2 separate regions of the Homo sapiens genome follow, and region 1 is linked to region 2. The links are contacts of gene promoters, found by promoter capture Hi-C in blood cells and fetal thymus (Javierre and others, 2016). All regions are on one chromosome and are shown on one strand. Each heading gives the region's core, a stretch centred on a gene start or on the middle of the fragment in contact. The rest is flanking DNA. Distances are from core to core; before and after follow the strand shown.

The links. The method cuts DNA at HindIII sites, captures the fragments that hold promoters and counts their contacts. A CHiCAGO score of 5 or more calls a contact.
Region 1: a fragment that was not itself captured here is called in contact with the fragment with the promoter of CHRNB2 in region 2 in 14 of 17 cell types (naive B cells, total B cells, fetal thymus and 11 more); the score reaches 15.7 in naive B cells.

Annotation. Positions count from the first base shown.
Region 1 is chr1:155,058,352-155,062,376 of GRCh38, forward strand. ADAM15 (ADAM metallopeptidase domain 15) reads left to right here. Exons shown (of 23, transcript NM_207197.3): 15 at 1-90; 16 at 359-436; 17 at 1,551-1,623; 18 at 1,854-1,992; 19 at 2,412-2,481; 20 at 3,064-3,138; 21 at 3,553-3,624; 22 at 3,894-4,018. The region is part of intron 1 of DCST1-AS1 (DCST1 antisense RNA 1); the gene reads right to left. ADAM15-EFNA4 (ADAM15-EFNA4 readthrough) reads left to right here. Exons shown (of 26, transcript NR_176418.1): 15 at 1-90; 16 at 359-436; 17 at 1,551-1,623; 18 at 1,854-1,992; 19 at 2,412-2,481; 20 at 3,894-4,018. Among named protein-coding and RNA genes, the nearest start is that of EFNA4, 3.4 kb to the right of the region's middle. The HindIII fragment of the contact is 4,923 bases long and covers 315-4,025 here.
Region 2 is chr1:154,566,141-154,570,269 of GRCh38, forward strand. It overlaps CHRNB2 (cholinergic receptor nicotinic beta 2 subunit), which reads left to right and starts at 1,638. Exons shown (of 6, transcript NM_000748.3): 1 at 1,638-1,968; 2 at 3,322-3,467; 3 at 3,652-3,696; 4 at 4,118-4,129. The coding sequence starts at 1,905. LOC107985206 (a long non-coding RNA gene) reads right to left here and starts at 1,577. Exons shown (of 2, transcript XR_001738238.3): 1 at 1,284-1,577; 2 at 1-42. RefSeq lists a silencer at 1,809-1,938. The HindIII fragment of the contact is 2,216 bases long and covers 1,172-3,387 here.

The sequences.
Region 1 (4,025 bases), core at 1,526-4,025, 490 kb after region 2:
CTGAACTGCAGCTGGGTGCACCTGGACCTGGGCAGTGATGTGGCCCAGCCCCTCCTGACTCTGCCTGGCACAGCCTGTGGCCCTGGCCTGGTGAGCAGCCTGGGTGGGCAAGACCAGGTGTGAGAAGGGACATTTGGACCACAATGAACAGAGCCCAGACTTCACCATTCACCAATGTCAAAGGCAGGGACTCCAAGGGAAGTCAGTTTCTTACTTCAGATGGAGCAAAGTCCTATCAACTCACTATGCCTTGGTTTCCCCATCTGTAAACGCAGGGTATGGCCTCAACCTTATTGGCCTCCCAGTCCCATTAAAGCTTTGTGGGAATCTGATCCAGGCTCTTCTCTCCCTGGGTCAGGTGTGTATAGACCATCGATGCCAGCGTGTGGATCTCCTGGGGGCACAGGAATGTCGAAGCAAATGCCATGGACATGGGGTGAGCTGGGATGGGGGAAGTGGAAGGGGAGCAGAGAGCCTCTAGAGAGGAAAAGGATACTGGGCTTTGGAAATAGACATATCTGGGTTTTAATCCTTGCTCTACTACTTCCCAGTTGTGTGACCTCGGGCAGGTTACTAACTTTGCTGAGCTCAGTTTCCCCACCTATCAAATGGCTATAATAATAGTATCCCCATCCAGGGTACATGAGATGAGTATGAAAGCATCTAGCACAGGCTGGGCACAATGGCTCATGCCTATAATCACAGTTTTTTTGTTTGTTTGTTTGTTTTGTTTTGAGACAGAGTCTCGCTCTGTTGCCTAGGCTGGAGTGCGCTGGCGTGATCTCGGCTCACTGCAACCTCTGCCTCCCAGGCTCAAACATTACTCATGTCTCAGCCTCCCTACTCGCTGGGATTACAGTCACCCGCCACCATGCCCAGCTAATTTTTGTATTTTCAGTAGAGATGGGTTTCACCATGTTGGCCAGGCTAGTCTTGAACTTCTGACCTCAAGTGATCCTCCCGCCTCAGCCTCCCAAAGTGCTGGGATTATAGGGGTGAGCCACTGCACCCAGCCAAATCACAGTACTTTGGGAGGCCAAGGCAGGAGGATTACTTGAGGCCAGGAGTTCAAAACCAGCCTGGTCAACATAGTGAGACCCCCATCTCTTTCAAGGAAAAATTTAAAAATTATTCAGGCCTGCTGGTGCACACCTATGCTCCCAGCTACTTGGGAGGCTGAGGCAGGAGGACTGCTTGAGCCCAGGAGTTTGGGGCTGCAGTGAGCCATAATTGCACCACTGCACTCCAGCCTGGGCAACAGAGTGAGACTCCATCTTACTTGCTGTCTAAAATAAAATAAAATAAAACAAAACAAAACAAACACAAAGAAAGAAAGCATGTACCACAGTGCCCAGCACACAGAAGGAGCTCAGTAAGTGTTAGTTTGATCTAATTTGCTCTGGTATGGATAAAGACCCTCCCTCCGGGCTGTCTCTACACACATACCCAGCACAACCCCCAGTTGTAGAAATCTGAGATCTTGAAAAGCTAGAGACAAGGAAATAGTTCCAGAGTGCAGAGCTCCTCATTGCTCGCCTTGTACCTCCTAGGTCTGTGACAGCAACAGGCACTGCTACTGTGAGGAGGGCTGGGCACCCCCTGACTGCACCACTCAGCTCAAAGGTAGCATGGGGGTGGGGGACAGGGGCAGCTGGGAGGGCAAAGCGTCTCATGCTTTATCTTGCCCCCTCGGCCCTCTCTTTCTGACCCCCCTTTGCTGCTGGTTCCCTGAGTCTGTGCCCCTTGAACCCTTCACTCTCCCTGATCACTTGACTTCACTCCCTGCCCCCTGCGCCTTCATGGATCTAGAGTTCTTAGCCCCGTCCTCCCTTAAACCTGACTTCCGCCCACAGCAACCAGCTCCCTGACCACAGGGCTGCTCCTCAGCCTCCTGGTCTTATTGGTCCTGGTGATGCTTGGTGCCAGCTACTGGTACCGTGCCCGCCTGCACCAGCGACTCTGCCAGCTCAAGGGACCCACCTGCCAGTACAGGTATGAGCATCACCTCCCTGCTACCACTTCCTTCAACTGGGGACAGTGCTGAAGGCTGCCTCACCTCTGCAGCCCCTGCCACCTGGTTCTGAGCCCCAGGCCCCTTGGACCTTAAAGTTGCTGACTGCCATACCCCACACCTCCCTTCCCTATATGTGCCCACAGCTTTTTACCTCACAGCTGTGCCCCTGTGGGGTGGCTGGATTGCTAGGGCCATTTCTCCCCAGGAGCCCCTGTGCTGGATAAGTAGGGTCTTCCCTCAAGCTAATAAATACTGCCCCCCACCCCGGCCCTACCACAATTTTACCTAAACCACACATAAGTGCCTGCAAAGGGTTAACCCCACTCAGGGATGGCATATGGTAGAAAACAGGGTCTGAGGCTGGGCCCTCTCCCTTCTTGCCTTTCCTCATGCATAGGGCAGCCCAATCTGGTCCCTCTGAACGGCCAGGACCTCCGCAGAGGGCCCTGCTGGCACGAGGCACTAAGGTGAGTCCTGGATGCCAGAGGAAGGGGACTCCACCTTGGCCGGGCATCCAGCTTGGGCCCTGGGGGGTGCGCATTAAAGGCTCCAGACTCAGAGAAAGGCTAGCACTGCCCAAGAGTCAGTCGAAGGAGTCAGGGCCAGCCCTGCCCTCCCCTCCCCTGGCTACAGGCAGGGAAGCTGAGTCCAGAAGAGTGGGGAGGGCAGCCAGCTGGAGCAGGAGCTGCTGGGCTCCGTCCGCTGGCCAAGAGGTGGCTTTGAGAGGTGGATCTATCCATGCCCCCAGCAGTGACCCCAGGAGGGCACAAGGGCAGTGGTGCTCAGAATGGCCTTCCGTAGGCCCAGGTCACCATGTTAGAAGGGCTGGTGAGCATCCCCACCCTGAGCCCTCTGCTTGGATGATGGGAGTGTGTGCACACCTCCTCCCCACTCGCTCCCCACCTGCATGCACCTGCATAACTGCATGCACAGCACCCACTGCCCTGGGCCCCTGCTGGCCCCCCCTGGGCACTGACCCTTCCCTGCCCACTCTGTCTCTCTGCTTCCTCTTCCCCCTCTGTGCCTATCTGCCCCTCCTGCCCTCTCAGCAGGCTAGTGCTCTCAGCTTCCCGGCCCCCCCTTCCAGGCCGCTGCCGCCTGACCCTGTGTCCAAGAGACTCCAGGTAAATCTGGGCCAGGGCCCGCCCTGAGCCAAGGCAGGTGGGAGGCTTGGTACCCAACTGCAGTTCTCATCCCTGCTCCCTGCCAGTGGTGCTCTTCATTAGGTGATCGGGGTGCCCCTCAGCCTTCAGACACTCTGAGCCCCAGAAGCAGCAAAGGGTGAGCCTCCTGCCTTGGTTTCTACCACCATCTGGTGGTCAATGGCGGGACTGCAGTCGGCCAGGGACTGCGGTTGACCTACACCTTCCTCCCCTGAGACATCAGCTGGCATGCCTCCAAGCCCTCTGCGCATGCCCTCATTCTCTCCTGCCCCCTGGCTGACTTTGCATGTTGACTTGAACCCCTCTGGGGAATCTCTGTGCATGTCCACAGCCCCTGGTTATGCTCTCACAGCCACTGCCCCTCTCTCTGTTCAGGCTGAGCTGGCTGACCGACCCAATCCCCCTACCCGCCCTCTGCCCGCTGACCCGGTGGTGAGAAGCCCGAAGGTAACGGTGGGGGGAGAGAAGGGCACGGCCTCTCCCCCCACCTAGGGCTGTGGTGCTGGTAGCCATGACGGTGGTGGCCGTGGCGAGATGCCCCCTCAGTGCATGAGGGCACATATCCCGGTGGTGCCTTTAATGGTGACAGGTTTGTTTGCAGACAAGGGTGACCGCTGGTGCTGCCCCCAAGCTGGTGTTCCCCAGCACCAGTGCGTTGGGGGTGGGCAACATGACACCCCCCCACCTAAGCCGGCCTCCTGCCTTCTCTCCCTCAGTCTCAGGGGCCAGCCAAGCCCCCACCCCCAAGGAAGCCACTGCCTGCCGACCCCCAGGGCCGGTGCCCATCGGGTGACCTGCCCGGCCCAGGGGCTGGAATCCCGCCCCTAGTGGTACCCTCCAGGTAGGAG
Region 2 (4,129 bases), core at 388-2,887:
CCTCTTCTAGAACTTTTCTGCTTCTTCCCTTAATTCCACGACCTGGGGACATGGTCAATAAGTTGCTTTTAGCTGGGCTTTTATTTATTTATTTGTTTAGTTTTTGAAATGGGGTCTTGCTTCATTGCCCAGGCTGGAGTGCAGTTGCGCCATCATGCCCCAAACTGCAGCCCCGACCTCCCTGGCTTAAGTGATCCTCCCACCTCAGCCTCTCGAGTAGCTGGGACTATAGGCACACACCATCATGCCCGACTAATTTTTAAACTTTTTGTACACACGTGATCTCATTATGTTGCCCAGGCTGGTTTCAAACGCCTGGGCTCAAGTGATCCTTCTGCCTCAGCCTTTGAAAGTGCTGAGATTACGGGCTTAAGTCACCTCTCCTGGTCCCTAGCTGAGCTTTTAGAGAGAAATTTTCCCTACACATTAAAAAGTGTCAGTCCAGTACTAGCCCTTTTCCTTACCTGTTGAGCCCTTATAATAATATGCCAGGCACTGTGTTGATTCATAATCTAGAGAGGCAGCCACTGCCTCAGGTGGATTCATTTATTCATTGGACATGCTCTGGAAACATATAACAAAGTATCTGATCTAGTTCTTGGTCAGGCGCAGCTTCCTTAAGGAATTGACATTCCTGCCAAATGCTCAAAGTTAAGTAGAAGGTGATGAGGGGAACATGGGTTATAAAAGAGCCCAAGAGAACCATGCATTTAAGTCCCTGAAGTGTGGGGGATGATGGGACGGATAAGATGTTCAAGGATCCTGAAGACCTTGCCAATAGTTGGAATGTGGAGCTGGGGGTGGAGTGACCCAGATGAGGTTGAAGTAAGCAGGGACAAAACAGGACAGAGCCTTGCTGTATGCTAAGTCTGCTTTAGTCAGGAATCTTTTGGTTGAAAGTGACAACGAACCCACTGAAGGAAAAAAAGGGGCTAAGAGTTCAGGGTTCTCATCTTTGGTCTCCTTTGTGTTAGCTTCTCTCTTGATCAGGCCTCTGTGAGTGGTCTCTGATCTCCCTAGTCACACAGAAGCCAACAGCTGGAGTCAAGAGAAGGGGGTGAGGAAGGCCGATGAATAGGGGCTACTTGTCTTTCCACTATTACCCTCAAGTCTACCTTCTTTGCAGGCAAGTCTAGACCTCCTCAGGTAGACCCTCAGTGGGAGGGCAGGAAGCTTAGCCTTTTAGACTCCAAAGCCGTTTGCTTTCTTAAAAATAGCAAACCCACAGCCCCCTATCTCTTTAAGGGGCTAAACACATTTTCTCTGCTGTATCCTCAGCCTACCTGGGGAGCAGGACCATTTGGGTTTGGTAAGAGAAAAAAGGAGGGCGAAAACCCCGGACACTCCTCCTGTCTCCCGACGCTCGTTCTGGCCGTCTGGCCCTCAGTACTAAGCAGGCCCTGACCTACTTGTCTTACTCTTGCTGCTTCTTCCCGCCGGGCCTCTTGCCCCTTCTCCGACCATGCTGCAGGTCCTGCCCCAACTTTAGGACTTCAGAACTCCTCCACCGTGCCGTGGAGGAACAGCCCTTCTTCCACCTCACGCACACCCTACCACGGCAGAACCAATCGAAGACTATCCCAGCCGGGGACCCCCCTTTTTTTTCCTGGGACCCAGCGTTTCCGCCTCCGGGGCGCAGACTCCTCCCCCTCACCGTCCCAATTGTATTCCCTGGAAGAGCAGCCGGAAAAGCCTCCGCCTGCTCATACCAGGATAGGCAAGAAGCTGGTTTCTCCTCGCAGCCGGCTCCCTGAGGCCCAGGAACCACCGCGGCGGCCGGCACCACCTGGACCCAGCTCCAGGCGGGCGCGGCTTCAGCACCACGGACAGCGCCCCACCCGCGGCCCTCCCCCCGGCGGCGCGCTCCAGCCGGTGTAGGCGAGGCAGCGAGCTATGCCCGCGGCATGGCCCGGCGCTGCGGCCCCGTGGCGCTGCTCCTTGGCTTCGGCCTCCTCCGGCTGTGCTCAGGTAAGGGAAAGACGGGCACTGGCCAGGTTCTCCTACCCCAGCCAACGGCCCAAGACTCGCCGCCCTCTGACTCACCCCTGCTAGGCCGGAAGGTGGAAGAAGGGATTCCCTAGAGGTGGGGGAGTCTGCTGGAGGTTAGGGGAGAGCCCCCCGGGACTGCAGAGAGCACCTGGGAGGCTGGACTGGGAACGAGACATACTCGAAGGAGTAAGTGAAGCAAGAAAGAGATGGAAACCTGGCCAGCGGTGGTAGGGGTGGTGCAGGCACAGAGAGCAAGGAGGCAGGGGATCTCCCCAGGCGTCCTGGGGTGGCAGGAGGCCGGCTCTGAGGGCGCTAAGATGCCATCTGACTTTTTGTGAAACATTATCTCAAGAAAGGTACCTGGACCAGCACCCCTCCCCGGGCTCCCCATCGTTTCCCATCCCCCACATTGGGCTCCAGATTCTCGTCACCCCTCAGGGGCAGAGAAGGGGAGAAAACGGAACGGACTTTTCAACCCTCCTGTAGGGTGGGACAGGAGGCTTGGAAGGGAAGAAGCTCTGCCAGGCTGAGGACTAGGAAGGAACTCTCTGAGGGGATGGGGAGGGGTGTGTTCGTGCAGAGTTGCAGAGGGGGATGCAGTGTGCCGGGGAGGGGCAGGTACAAAGGGAATGCACAACTGAATGAGCTTTCCACACCTACAGGCCACCTCTAGGGGTGGGCTGCTGTGTGTGTGAAACTTGGGGCTACATATATGCCTGACCCACAGCTTAGGCAGCCCAGCTATTCCACTCCAACCCAGTGCCTTTAGGGAGAGGGGAGGATGGCATCGTGACCACAGTCACATGTCATTACGTGAGGCACATAATGTCATTTGCACATGTAAATGGTGAACGGGAACAGTTATTTGTGTCCCACCACACATACACTTTCTCCTCAATCGGCAGGAGAAAGGATGTGTGTGGTGGGACACAAATAACTGGGACAAATAACTGTTCACCTTCACTGCCCTGCTAAACCTCCCTTGAGTCATAGGTATTTGCTGGGGAAGCCATGGAAGCAGAAATCTCAAACTGCCCTCTGAGACTTTGGGGGAAGAGCAGGTCTCCATGAATCCTTGCAGAGTGGGTTCTTAGTCTCAAGTCATCTCTGTGGAGCTGTGTAGACTCTTTGGTCAGTGGTCTCAGAGAGGGGCTTTTCTATGAAGACATTAATCTGGGGCCTCCCTGGGGTTAATCTAAGCATTTTGCAGTATCCTTAGGGATGTAGGGAGATACTGGTTGGGCCTGGATTGTCCCATTTGCCTGGGGAGGGTGGGATGCTGGGTGGGCTCTCCTTGCCTGCTTACTTTCGTCCTGCCTTTCCCCTGCCCAGGGGTGTGGGGTACGGATACAGAGGAGCGGCTGGTGGAGCATCTCCTGGATCCTTCCCGCTACAACAAGCTTATCCGCCCAGCCACCAATGGCTCTGAGCTGGTGACAGTACAGCTTATGGTGTCACTGGCCCAGCTCATCAGTGTGGTGAGTAGAGGTCCCAGGCTCTCTGCCCAGCTACTGAAATCAGCCCCGCCAAAATGTGTTAATGCTTGTGTGCTTCCTCCCCTGGTGTTTCCAAGGCTTGGGGAGGTGTGAGAGGGACCCTGGGTGGTGGCAGTGACCCCACAGGCTTAGGGGCCTTCTCGGCAGCCTCTCTTCCTCCCTGCAGCATGAGCGGGAGCAGATCATGACCACCAATGTCTGGCTGACCCAGGTAAGCGTAAGTGCTCTCTTCCACCCACACCCCTGGCCTTCTCTCTCCTCCTTTTTCCCCATGTGCTTTTTTCTTTCTTAATCTCTCAAAACAGGCAGAAAGGTATAGAGTTTGGAGTCCTAAACAATTGGATTTGAATCTTGGCACTCACCAGCCTTGTGACTTTAAACATATTAAACTCTCCAAGATTCATTTTCTCATTTGTAAATGTAGATTCTAATACTGTACCTTGGCCTAGCTGTGCAAATTAAATGAGAAAGTACCACATGAGCCATACCTGATGGGCAGAGAAGTCACTGTGGGGAAGAGGCTGGCTTTTAAAAGGTCCCTCAAGCCATATGGGCCCCCTCTAGTTCGTTTCCTTAACCTTGAGCCCCACCCAGGGCACAAGTTGGTACTGCCTCCCTCTCTCATTTCCCAGGAGTGGGAAGAT